Linked DNA regions of Homo sapiens: regions 2, 3 and 4 are each linked to region 1. The links are contacts of gene promoters, found by promoter capture Hi-C in blood cells and fetal thymus (Javierre and others, 2016). All regions are on one chromosome and are shown on one strand. Each heading gives the region's core, a stretch centred on a gene start or on the middle of the fragment in contact. The rest is flanking DNA. Distances are from core to core; before and after follow the strand shown. Region 1 holds the start of SLC25A53 (solute carrier family 25 member 53). Region 2 overlaps RPL36A-HNRNPH2 (RPL36A-HNRNPH2 readthrough). Region 3 overlaps BTK (Bruton tyrosine kinase). Region 4 has its middle 1.8 kb from the start of ZMAT1.

Evidence for each region. Contacts are between HindIII fragments. The CHiCAGO score rates a contact against its expected background, and 5 or more counts as called.
Region 2: a fragment that was not itself captured here is called in contact with the fragment with the promoter of SLC25A53 in region 1 in 3 of 17 cell types (monocytes, activated CD4 T cells and total CD8 T cells); the score reaches 7.1 in monocytes.
Region 3: a fragment that was not itself captured here is called in contact with the fragment with the promoter of SLC25A53 in region 1 in 2 of 17 cell types (activated CD4 T cells and non-activated CD4 T cells); the score reaches 6.2 in activated CD4 T cells.
Region 4: a contact is called between a fragment that was not itself captured here and the fragment with the promoter of SLC25A53 in region 1, in 2 of 17 cell types (total B cells and activated CD4 T cells). The highest score is 10.0, in total B cells.

The regions. Positions count from the first base shown.
Region 1 is chrX:104,155,201-104,158,358 of GRCh38, forward strand. SLC25A53 (solute carrier family 25 member 53) reads right to left here and starts at 1,809. Exons shown (of 2, transcript NM_001012755.5): 1 at 1,678-1,809. It also overlaps a transcript of FAM199X not described here. RefSeq lists an enhancer at 1,583-1,882. The HindIII fragment of the contact is 6,927 bases long and covers 1-2,019 here.
Region 2 is chrX:101,399,037-101,401,536 of GRCh38, forward strand. All of the region lies in intron 3 of RPL36A-HNRNPH2 (RPL36A-HNRNPH2 readthrough), which reads left to right. It overlaps GLA (galactosidase alpha), which reads right to left. Exons shown (of 7, transcript NM_000169.3): 4 at 1,630-1,721. Among named protein-coding and RNA genes, the nearest start is that of GLA, 7.6 kb to the right of the region's middle. The HindIII fragment of the contact is 4,058 bases long and covers 1-2,500 here.
Region 3 is chrX:101,350,749-101,353,981 of GRCh38, forward strand. It overlaps BTK (Bruton tyrosine kinase), which reads right to left. Exons shown (of 19, transcript NM_000061.3): 17 at 3,122-3,233; 18 at 2,446-2,603. Among named protein-coding and RNA genes, the nearest start is that of TIMM8A, 3.6 kb to the left of the region's middle. The HindIII fragment of the contact is 4,884 bases long and covers 1-3,233 here.
Region 4 is chrX:101,932,259-101,935,393 of GRCh38, forward strand. No RefSeq gene overlaps it. Among named protein-coding and RNA genes, the nearest start is that of ZMAT1, 1.8 kb to the left of the region's middle. RefSeq lists an enhancer at 1-48. The HindIII fragment of the contact is 2,213 bases long and covers 505-2,717 here.

The sequences.
Region 1 (3,158 bases), core at 559-3,058:
CAGGCTGGAGTGCAGTGGCGCAATCTTGGCTCACTGCAACCTCTGCCTCCCGGGTTCTAAGAGATTCCAGGAGATATTCTTTCCAATTTATTGTCAGCTCCGTTTAGACCTATAGTTCTCCAAGTATGGCCCCATGTCCAGGAGTATCAGCATCTCCTGGGAACTAGTTAGAAATGTAAATTCGGGGGTCCACTCCTGACCAACTGTAGGGGCAACTCTGTGGATGGGACCTAGCAATCTTGGTTTTAAGAAACGCTCCATCTGATTCTGATTCACAGGAAAGTTTGAGAGCCACTGACTTAGACTGCTATACTGTTGTTTCTCTGGTAAACAAAGAGGCTTCTTTTCTTGTTCAGAGAAATATTGCTTAGGATTTCTGGTGGGTGCACAATTCCCTGCTGTGAACCGAGTTTGCTGGAAAACCAAGTAACTAGCACCTCCATCGTAGTCCTACCCAGAGCTTGCAGGCTTTGCACTCACGTAAGACTGATTCTTCCAGAGGCGCCTGGAAGTCCCATTGTGATGGGCAAATGCTCTTACCAGAAATAAACTAGTTGTGGGGACCGGGCGCGGTGGCTCATGCCTGTAATACCAGCACTTTGGGAGGCCGAGGCAGGCGGATCACTTGAGGTCAGGAGTTCGAGGCCAACCTGGCCAACATGGTAAAACCCCGTCTCTACTAAAAATATAAAAATATAAAAATTAGCCGGGAGTGGTGGTGGGTGCCTCTAATCCCAGCAACCCGGGAGGCTGAGGCAGGAGAATCACTTGAACCCGGCAGACGGAGGTTGCAGTGAGCGGAGATCACGCCACTGCATTCCAGCCTGGGCGACAGAAGTAGAGAGACTCCTTATCAAAAAAAAAAAAAAGAAAGAAAGAAAGAAAAAAAAAAAGAAATACACTAATTTTGGGCCTTAAATGCTACTCAGTTCTCCAGTTCACCTCAACAGGGAGGGAAGGTGCTTGGAGGAAAATTGCACTTCGTTTTTGCCCTGCTTATTTTGTCTTCAAAATATATGTTAAATCACCGCATCAAAGAGCCGTCCCAGATCTCAACTCCCAGATGAGTTCGGTGGCACCCAATAGATTTTCATAACACAGGATCTATCTCTGTCTCCTTGTATTGTAATAGCCTGTCTCCAAATGCAGATAGCAACCGGCAGGCTGTAAATGTCGAGGAAAAAGCCTAATTCCTTTCCTCATCCGGAGCCTCTAGTGCAGTACCCAGCACAGAGCAGGTACTTGGTATTTTGGTAAGGGAAATCAATCAACGCATCAATAGCAGAATCTGAAACCAGGGACCTAGATCTTTCCAATAAAATCATCCTGCTGAGATGTGACTCAGATGTACTGGTGCCCAGCAGACAACACGTTTTCGCCCTGATTTTATCCTCCATTCATCCGTCCGCCCCCTCCCCCATAGACCCCGCCTGTCCCCAGCTAAAAATAATGAGGGGATTCACACATCTCAGTGTCAACACACACAACACAGTTGACACGCCCCTTAATCCTACAGCTACGCCATCAATTCTCGCCGCCGGGTCCGTCCGCTTGTCAGTTTCCCCTACTCCTCATCCCCTCGCAACTTCTGATCCCCTATCACTTCCGTTCCCGTTTGCCTGCTAGGCTGGAAGCAGGATGTGTCTACGCCCTCAGCCCATAAGAAGTGCTACAAACCTCCGCCTCGCTCGCTGTCATGGCGGCGACCGACGGCCCCTTTCCTGTGGCCTCAGAAAGCAGCGACAGTCGCAGTCACCGGACCTTCGCCCATCCGCCGCCCTCACTTAAGCGACGCACAACGGAGCTCCCACAATCCTCTTTGCTTCCGCTCTCTTTATTTCCGCCTCCCCCGCCCCCGCCTCGACATTAACCGTTTCGCGACTACGTCAGTTGGCCGGTCTGTTTGGGAGAGCCAGGCGACTAATCTGGTATAGAGACCGAAAAACACAGGTAAAAAGACCTAAAAGACTTAGTCATCTATTGGAACATTTCCCCAGTTTGTTTGTAAGTTGGCTTGCAAGCTTATCAGTCATTCTCAAACAGGAGCTTAACTTACTTAGGTGAACAGTTCATGATGACGCCTTTAAGCTGCTAGACCAACCCAAACTCCGAATTTGCAGTTTCTGACCTTTCACCTTGAACCTGTGCCCTTTCTACCCTCTATTCTCCATCTCCTTTTGGTTCTTGTCTGACTCTTTAGCTGCATATGTAAAGAGCACAGACTTTGAAACCTGAGCTCCCGCGTTCGAATCCCCACTGTACCACTATCTAAACATGGCATCTTGGGCAAGTGATTCAAGCATGCTATTCCTTGGCTTTTTCATCTGTAGAATTGGTATAATAATAGTACTTACCTCCAGAGTTGCAGTAAAAATATTAAAATTTCACATGTGAGGAGCACCTAGAACATTGCCTATCATGAAGTTAAGCAGTATATTGAAATATAAATTATAATGATTGAATTTGATCTCACCTAAGACCTCTGGCTAATAAATAATAAATGATAATAATCATTTCACCTGGGATAGAGGGGATTGCCCTGTTCTCTCCAGGCTGAGGCTGTAATACCTGATTCTAGGGACTGCTGATATGGAAATTACTACCACTCTGGCTGGAGTCAGAAGAGTATATTAAAGAGTCTCTTTGTACTGTCCTAAAATAAGCAAAATCCAACGTTTGCAGTTCTATGGACCACGCACTATGATAAGTGCTTTAAACCCATTTTGTTGTTATTGCTTCATCCTCACAATAGCCCTTTGCTGGTTCTTAAGTGTATTACCCTTTCCTGTCCTCTTTGTCTGCTTAAAGCAGCTAAGAAAACTCAGATTAGTCAGATTGCATATAAATCAATAACTTGCCCACGGTCACAGAGCTAATAACAAATAGAGCCAAGACTTAAACTCAGATACATTCAGATGTGTCTTGGTATTTCTCAAATATCACTGAGAAAAAGGCCACCATAAATTCTTTTCAAGTGCTCTCTCTCCCCCAACTCCCCACCCCAAGAATTGCCTGAATGCCCATACAGAAAGACTAGGTTCTCTTCAGAAGCAGAAGGGCAGAACCCACTAAGGCAAAGATCTCTCCCTTGAAGGCTGGCAGCCAAGGAGGTGACTATAGTAGGAATTGGCATAACCAGCTCACTCATTGCCCTCCAC
Region 2 (2,500 bases), core at 1-2,500, 2.8 Mb before region 1:
TTGAGTTTACAGATTGAACGTCTCCATAAGGAGGTCTAAACCCTTATAATGAATTTTCACTGTAAGAAGTTTGCTTCAGAAGTAGGCCATATAACTTGAAATCCCTTAAAGTTAATTTACTTCTATAATCAGAACTAAAATGGTCTTAGTAAAATTAAAAGCTGCAAAATTACATAGGACTCCATCAAGTATTAAGAAAACTTAAATCCCAGGCATATAGTTTGTTAATGGAATAAAAAGTTTGTAGAGGCTGGGCACGGTGGCTCATGCCTGTAATCCCAGCACTTTGGGAGGCCGAGGCAGGTGGATCATCTGAGGTCAGGAGTTCGAGACAAGCCTGGCCAACATGGTGAAACCATCTCTACTAAAAATACAAAAATTAGCCAGATGTGGTAGCGCACGCCTATAATCCCAGCTACTGGGAGGCTGAGGCAAGAGAATCGCTTAAACCCGGGAGGCGGAGGTTGCAGTGAGCCGAGATGGCGCCACTGCACTCTAGCCTGGGTGACAGTGAGACTCTGTCGCAAAAAAAAAGTTTGTAGATAGGCAGGTGGGATATCAGGTTTAAGATGTTGAGAAAAAAGACTATTTTGCAGAGATAATGAGGGAATAATAGGGATTCATTCCATAAATAACTATTCAACACTTAACCATATGCGAGAGATACAGTCAAAGTCAGACAAGGTCCCTGCCCTCATGAAACTTACACTCTAGTGGGGAGACATGGTAACAAGTCAACAAATACTTCCAAATAGTGTGGAGCTCTGAGAAGAAAATTAAACAGGTTAATGTGATGAAGAATGAATGGACAGAGGGCTATTTTAAAGTAGTTAGAGAAGAACTGTCTGCATATGTGGCGTTTGGTCTGCGACTTCAATGTTAAGGAGCCCGGCCCTTTAAAAATCTTTGGGGAAGAACTGTTCTAGGCAGAAAAAAAGCAAGTGTAAAGGCCCTGGGGCAGCAATAGGCTTGCAGTGTTGAGGGACAGAAAGAAAACCAGTGTAGCCAGGGAAAGAGCCATGACCCCTTGGACTTTGGGGAGGCAGGCAAGGGCTGGATCAGTGCAGTTTGGTTTCATTCCAAGTGCAATTGGAAGCGAGTTAAGGGTTTTAAGCAGGGAACTGATGATGACATTTATATTTTTTATAACTCTGTTAAGTCTCAGGGTTTTTTTCTTTAAAAAAAAAACTGATATTTACATTTTAATATGATAACTCTAGTGCTGCTTGGAAAATAGATGGGGGTTGAGACAGAGTGGAAGCAGAGAGATCAGGTGGTCCCAGCAGTCTGGTTGAGAGCCGATAGTAGCTTGGAAGGCCAGGGTGCATGTAGTGAAGATGGAAGGAAGTGGGCTGATTCAGGAGATATTTTAGAGATACTGGTGGAAGGACTGTTGATAGACAGGACATGAATGGTGAAATAAAGGGGAAGACACAAGGATGACTTTCCAGGTGATGGTAGCTTAGGCTATAATTACAGCAGTGGGGATGGTGAGAAGTGGTTGGAACCTGGGAGAGATGGTAGGATGATAGTAAGTAACGTTGGACTTTGAAGGAGACCTTGGTTTCCTTTGTTGTCAAGTTCTATCTATCAGTACAGTTCTATTGGATTCTGGGCTCACTATCTCACCTTTTGAAAGGGCCACATATAAAGAGGCCACTCACAGGAGTACACAATGCTTCTGCCAGTCCTATTCAGGGCCAAGGACATGTGCTTATAACCTGTATGAGAAAACAATGGGTAAAATAAGGGAAAGAAATGAATTTCCAGCTGGGGCTATATATATAGTTATTTTATTTTATTTTATTTTAATTTTTTGAGATGGGGTTCAGTCTGTCATCCAGGGTGGAGTGCAGTGGTGCGATCTTGGCTCACTGCAACCTCTGTTTCCCAGGTTCAAGTGACTCTTCTGTCTCAGCTTCCCAAGTAGCTGGGATTACAGGCATGTGCCACCAAAGTCAGCTAATTTTTGTATTTTTACTAGAGATGGGGTTTCACCATGTTGGCCAGGGTGGTCTCGAACTCCTGACCTCAAGTAATCCACCCGCCTCAGCCTCCCAAAGTGCTAGGATTACAGGCATGAGCCATCATGCCCAGCTGGGGCTGTATATTTTAAGAAGAGGCTACCTGGAAGGTTCATGTTTAAACTAGCAGCAGGGACAGGCAGTTGCTCTGTGCTTAAATTGTGTAAAGTACCTCCCAGACTGCTGGGATTGTTCTGAGGAAGTAGTGCAGAGATGGTGTGTATATTGAGGAAAGGCAGGAATGAAGATGCTTCTTTCTCTGTGACCGATTGACAACCTGGACTCCCCTAAATGATGTTATAGAGAGTTACAATTACTAATTAACTCTTAGAGCCCTCTTGAATTATAAGTGCACAATATTAGCTATGGTTAGGTATGCATGGATTTTACATGAATTAATTAATTAATTAATGAACTGAAAGAGAAGAGATGGGAGCTCTGGCACATGGAGAATAATTATTTCCAGTATTGTGACA
Region 3 (3,233 bases), core at 314-2,813, 2.8 Mb before region 1:
CGACTAAGGTTCTTTTTGATGGCCATGGCCCATAAGCCCCCGAGGTATTTGGTATTTAGTGGTTCAGGGAACATTCATGCCAGAATGCTCTCAATCTGTTAGAACCAATGGTCATCAATTTCTTGATTCCTTGACTCAGTGATTCTTAAACTTAGCTGAGTATCAGAATTTCCTGGGAAGTTTAAAAAGAGATTTCTGGGTTCCACTTCAGGCATAGCTAATCAGAATTTCTGGAGAAAAGTCCCAGTTACCTGAATTTTTTTTTGTGACACAGTCTCGCTCTGTCACTCAGGCCAGAGTGCAGTGGCAGGATCTCGGCTCACTGCAACCTCCACCTCCTGGGTTCAAGTCATTCTCCTGCCTCAGCCTCCTGAGTAGCTGAGATTACAGGCACACATCACCACGCCTGGTTAATTTTTGTATTTTTAGTAGAGACAGGGTTTCACCATGTTGGCCAGAATGGTCTAGATCTCCTGACCACGTGATCCGCTTGCCTTGGCCTCCCAAACTGCTGGGATTACAGGCATGAGCCACCATGCCCAGCCAGTAATCTGCATTTTTAAGAGCTCCTTAGGGTTTCTGATATGCATCCAATTTTGACCACTCCTTTAAACAGGCTGTGGATAAAGTACCTGTCTGAAATCATTTTTAATTAGCAGAGTAAGAAGGTCCTGATTGGGAGGGAGCATAGCCAATCACCCTTAATCCTGCATCACACAGAAGAAAGAAGGAGTCCTCCCTTTCTGCACTTTCTCTGTGATCTGTCATTTGTTCGAGGGAAACCAGCCATGCTCGGATCCAGATACCCACTTTTCACCTCACCAAGAAGGCTCCAGATTCACATATGCACTTGTTGGACACTCTGAAGAGTTGAGCATTTATTTCCTACTAGAAATTTAGGTTGCCAAGGATCTACTGAAAAGTAGAGAAGGCATCTTGGGAAGAACTCGAGGTAAGAGGAGCAAAGCAGTTTAATAGTAGTAGGACAGATTTCCTTATTTCCAAAATACCACACCTACCCACATACCCCACGATGCACCATATTAAAAAGCAAAACAAAACAAAGCAAACAAAAAACCCACTACCTGTTTTAGTTCCCTTTCAAGCAGTAGGTTTTAAAAAAAATCTCATTTAGCCGGGCGCTGTGGCTCATGCCTGTAATCCCAGCACTTTGGGAGGCAGAGGCGGGTGGATCACAAGGTCAGGAGATCGAGACCATCTTGGCTAACACGGTGAAACCCTGTCTCTACTAAAAATACAAAAAATTAGCCGGGCGTGGTGGCGGGCCCCTGTAGTCCCAGCTACTCGAGAGGCTGAGGCAGGAGAATGCTGTGAACCCAGGAGGCGGGGCTTGCGGTGAGCCGAGATCACGCCACTGCACTCCAGCCTGGGCGACAGAGAAAGACTCGGTCTCAAAAAAAAAAAAAAAAAAATCTCATTTAGGACCTCAGCCAGAAACGGTTGGCAGCTAATAAAGTAGAAGAAAGGGCCAATGACACACAAAGGAATGAACAAACTTTCATGACTTTTCTTTTGTAATGCCCATTCACTTGTCTGAATGCCTCTGGCTGCCTGCTTATGCTAGATGACATGGCCCCACAACACCTCACTCCCTAAAGCTGAGCTGGCATTGGAGTGTACTAATGACACTCTAGTGAGAATCGGAGTGGGCCTGGGAAAGCCTCTGGCCATCAGATGATCAAGTTGCAGGCCAAGGTCAGAGAATGTGTGCAAGGCCTGGCGTGGTGGTTGATGCCTCTAATCCCAGCACTTTGGGAGGCCGAGGTGGGCGGATCACTTGAGGCCAGGAGTTCGAGATCAGCCTGGTCAACATGGCGAAATGCCATCTCTACTAAAAATACAAAATTGGCCAGGCTCAGTGGCTCACGCCTGTAATCCCAGCACTTTGGGAGGCCGAGGTGGGTGGATCACCTGAGGTCAGGAGTTCAAGACCTGCCTGGCCAACATGGTGAAATGCTGTCTCTACTAAAAATGCAAAAATTAGCTGGGCACGGTGGCATGTGCCTGTAGTCCCAGCTACTCGGGAGGCTAAGGCAGGAGAATCACTTGAACCCAGGAGGCAGAGGTTGCAGTGAGCCAAAATCGTGCCACTGCACTCCAGCCTGGGTGACAGAGCAAGACTGTGTCACCAAAAAAAAAAAAAAAAATTAGCTTGGTGTGGTGGTGCACGCCTATAATCCCAGCTACTTGGGAGGCTGAGACATGAGAATCGCTTGAATCTGGGAGGCGAAGGTTGCAGTAAGCCAAGATCGCGCCACTGTACTCCAACCTGGGTGAAAGAGCGAGACCTTGTCTCAAATTAAAAAAAAAAAAAAAGGAAAAAAAAGAATGTGTGCAGCTATCAGTCTTTGGTGGCTGAATGGCCAGCTAAATGGGCAAGTAGATTCAAGGAAATAATTTAAGAGATCCTAATAAAGCACTTACCTCATGCCAGCAACTGTACATGATGGTATATACCTTCTCTGAAGCCAGATGAGGCCTGTAGAGACGTAGGCCTTGGGCAATGTGTTCAGCAGTCTCACTGTTAGTAAATCTCTCATATGGCATCTTCCCCAGGGAGTAAATTTCCCACATCAAAACCCCTAGAAGGTGAAAAAAATTATTAAATTGGTTTGCAGTCTTTTTGGATAGCAGGGGTCCTAGTCTTCCTAGATCAACCTCAAAGATTAGAATCAGTTGGTTCCCCGCTCTGTGCTTTTTATATTTTGCCCAAATTTCTGCTATAGTACTGACCACACTAGATGGAGATCAAGGTCGTACTAGACTATTAACTCCTCTAGAAGAGAGACAGCATCTTATTTGTCTTTGCAGTTATAGGGTCTGGCAGAGTGCCTGGTACATAATCAGTATTCAGAAGCTGTTGAAAACTGAATGAATTGTTTTCCTTAACATGGTTTAAGTTCTAAAAAGGCAGAGATCATGTCCAGTTTAGTTTTCATCCTCAGAAACCCCTGTGGTGGCTGACACACAGTAAGCACTCCCCAAGGATTGGAAGAATGAAAGCAAGAACAATATCTCTGTGGAGGTTGCAAAGTGTGAATTTTCCCATTGCATTTCTTATCCTTTGAGCTGTATAATCTGTGTAATCTTATCCACTTACCAAAAGCCCAAATGTCAGATTTGCTGCTGAACTTGCTATACATCAGGACTTCCGGTGGGGACCACCGGACTGGAAATTTGGAGCCTACTGAGCTTGTGTATTCATCATCCAG
Region 4 (3,135 bases), core at 361-2,860, 2.2 Mb before region 1:
GCGGGATGTGAAAGCACGTGGGCCTCGCACAGTGAGGCTTCTTTGGAGATCTAATCTAAAACCAATTTAAGAGGAAAAAATGTCTGGAAACTATTGATCTCACCTCCAAAATATCTCTGAAATATATCTTCACCTGGCTTTTTTTTTCTCTTTCTTTTTTTTTTTTTTTTTTTTTTTTTTTGAGGGAGAGTCTCGCCCTGTAGCCCAGGCTGGAGTGCAGTGGTGCGATCTCACTCACTGCTACCTCTGCCTCCCGGGTCCTGGTTCAAGCAATTTTGCCTCAGTGTCCCGAGTAGCTGGGATTACAGGCATGTGCCACCATGCCCAGCTAATTTTTGTATTTTTAGTAGAGATGGGGTTTCACTATGTTAGCCAGGCTAGTCTTGAATTCCTGACCTCATGATCCACCTGTCTCGGCCTCCCAAAGTGCTGGGATTACAGGCGTGAGCCACCACGCCCGGCCCCTGGCTTTCTTAAAGCACTTAGTACAGAGAATAGAACAGAAGCTTTCATTCTGACACATTGTTTCCGTGGCCTCTTAAAGGACTGCCTATCTATCGATCTGCCCATCTTAATTACAATAACTTCCTGTGAATTCAGCACCCAATAGAAGTACTAGAATATTACTGATCACTTAAATCTCATCTTGTCCCCCCAACCTCTCCTCTCAAAGAGACCAATATCCTGATTTATATTTATTATTTCTTTGCATTTTAACATATATTCTTATCACATAGATATGTGCCTAAATAGTGTTGTTTAGTTTTGATTGTTTTCAATTTTCACAAATATTTATATCTTTTTCTAGGTAGCATTCTGGGACTTGTTTCTGCTTTTTTTTCCCTCAAGCAATACTCTTACCTCAGCCTCTGGAGTAGCTGGGATTACAGGAAGGAGCCACCATGCTTGGCCTGGGACTTGTTTCTTTCACGTAACATTCTAAGATTCATCTATGTTGTTGCTTGTAGCTGTAGTTATGCACTGTCGATGCTGTAGGATATCTCACCCTTTTCCTTATTGATGGGCACACCTCCTGGTGCCTTTGTGCAAGTCTCCCTTAAGTATTCTCTCCTTTCCAGTCTTAGATCCGTTGCTGTATTTCAAGTCCTCATGATATATGGTCAGACGTATGGCATCCACCCCACTGGTCTTCTTTCCTCTGATCTCAATCCCTCCAATCTATTACCAAGTTGTTGCCAGTCGTCACTGGCTGTCCAGTGCTTATTGGACAAAGTCAAAAGACACAGTTTTGCCCTGTTAGTCTCCCCATTCACCTCTTTGACCTCATCTCTTTCCACTGTCCCCATCTCTCCCCTCTGCTTTTACTTTGATTTAGCAATCCCTAAATCTTCTTAGATTCCTGTGAAGACCGCCAGGCGCGGTGGTTCACGCCTGTAATCCCAGCACTTTGGGAGGCCGAGGCGGGTGGATCACGAGGTCAGGAGATCGAGACCATCCTGGCTAACACAATGAAACCCTGTCTCTACTAAAAATACAAAAAAATTAGCTGGGCATGGTGGGGGGCGCCTGTAGTCCCAGCTACTCAGGAGGCTGAGGCAGGAGAATGGCTTGAACCTGGGAGGCAGAGCTTGCAGTAAGTCGAGATTGTGCCACTGCACTCCAGCCTGGGCGACAAAGCGAGACTCCATCTCAAAAAAAAAAAAAGATTCCTGTGAAGACCATGTTATTTCATGATGTAATGTTACTATATATGTTCTTCTCTCTTCCTGAAACACCTTTTCCCCCACATTAGGCACTTGCCTAATGAAATCCTATACACCCTTAGAAACCCAGACAACACATCACCTCACCAAGTAACCTGTTCTGTCTCTCCTTAGAGTTAATTTCACCTTCTTCTGTGCTACATCTATATCTGGTGTGTATTTTTATTGTAATGAATTATATACTTTGTACTTCTCAAGAACCTGGGACCATTTGAGACAAAAGACAGCGTCTTATTTTCCATGACTCATGCTCCAGCCCAGTAAAGTCCTAGGACAGAAGTTGAAAGGCAGGGATCCCTAGGCCCAGGTCTCTAAGTCCCTAGATCTGGCTTATGATATGTTTTCTTCTACGTACACAATTGTTTATTCATGACCTCATCAACATTTGAAAGGGGTATTTCATGCAAAATAAAAGTCTCTTAACAACATGAAGATTTGGCAGTACTGGCTGTGCATTCCTGAATGGCTACAGTTGGCTAGAGCTGAATAACCAGTTAGAGAGACTTGGAGTTCTGGGCTTTTAAACACTTATCTTTATGTTGTTTTTTGTGGTTCAATAATTTACCCAAGATTACCTGAGTCAATGGGTAGCTTCTCTAGACTTCTACCTTGTCCTTATGTAAGTTAGATCAAATTTTACTCGTTAAGGAAATTACTGGATAGGCCAGACACAAGAAATAATCTGCTCAAGTAGCTAGTAGGACAAGGCAAGCATACAAATGGGGTGTGATTTTATTCCTTCTGATATGGAGGGATCTCTCAAAAACATTGTTTTTTGAAATATGAATCACAATCCACTTAGGTAAGAAATATTCATTCAGAATCTCTGGAGGAGTGGGCATCACTCAAGATTCAGTCAGCAAAAAAGAAACTACACTAGGTATTTCAAACAGAAAATATTTAATGTAGAATATCAGGTACTTAAAAGAATCAGAAAGGTTAAAGAAGTAAAATCCAGGAGACTTACGCAGATAAGGTCATCTGGCAGTTGGAAGCTTTTTCATCCTCGTCTATGTTCTCTCCTTTGTTGCAGAAGCTGGAATCCTGTGAATTACATTTCCTAAACTTCTTGCCAGCAGGATTCTGAATATGGTTTAGGTATCACCAATGCTATGTATTTGTATGATATTTTTTAAATAGAAAGGAAATAAAAACTGTTCTTTATGTGGAATCTGGCAGATATAAAACAAATTTTTTTTCAGACCCTAGCATTCTTCTGTAAGTCTTGTACTCAAAGGCTTTGGAGGATCTGTGAGATTAGCAGTGGTTTTCTGCAGTTCCCTGACCTCTGTCTGACAGTAACAACTATATCAGTCAACAAATATATATTAAATTATGGAATTACTTTGTCCTTCTTAGGATCCACGGAAAATTCTGTCTCTGCCACTTTAACAGTAAAAAGAAGTGGTAG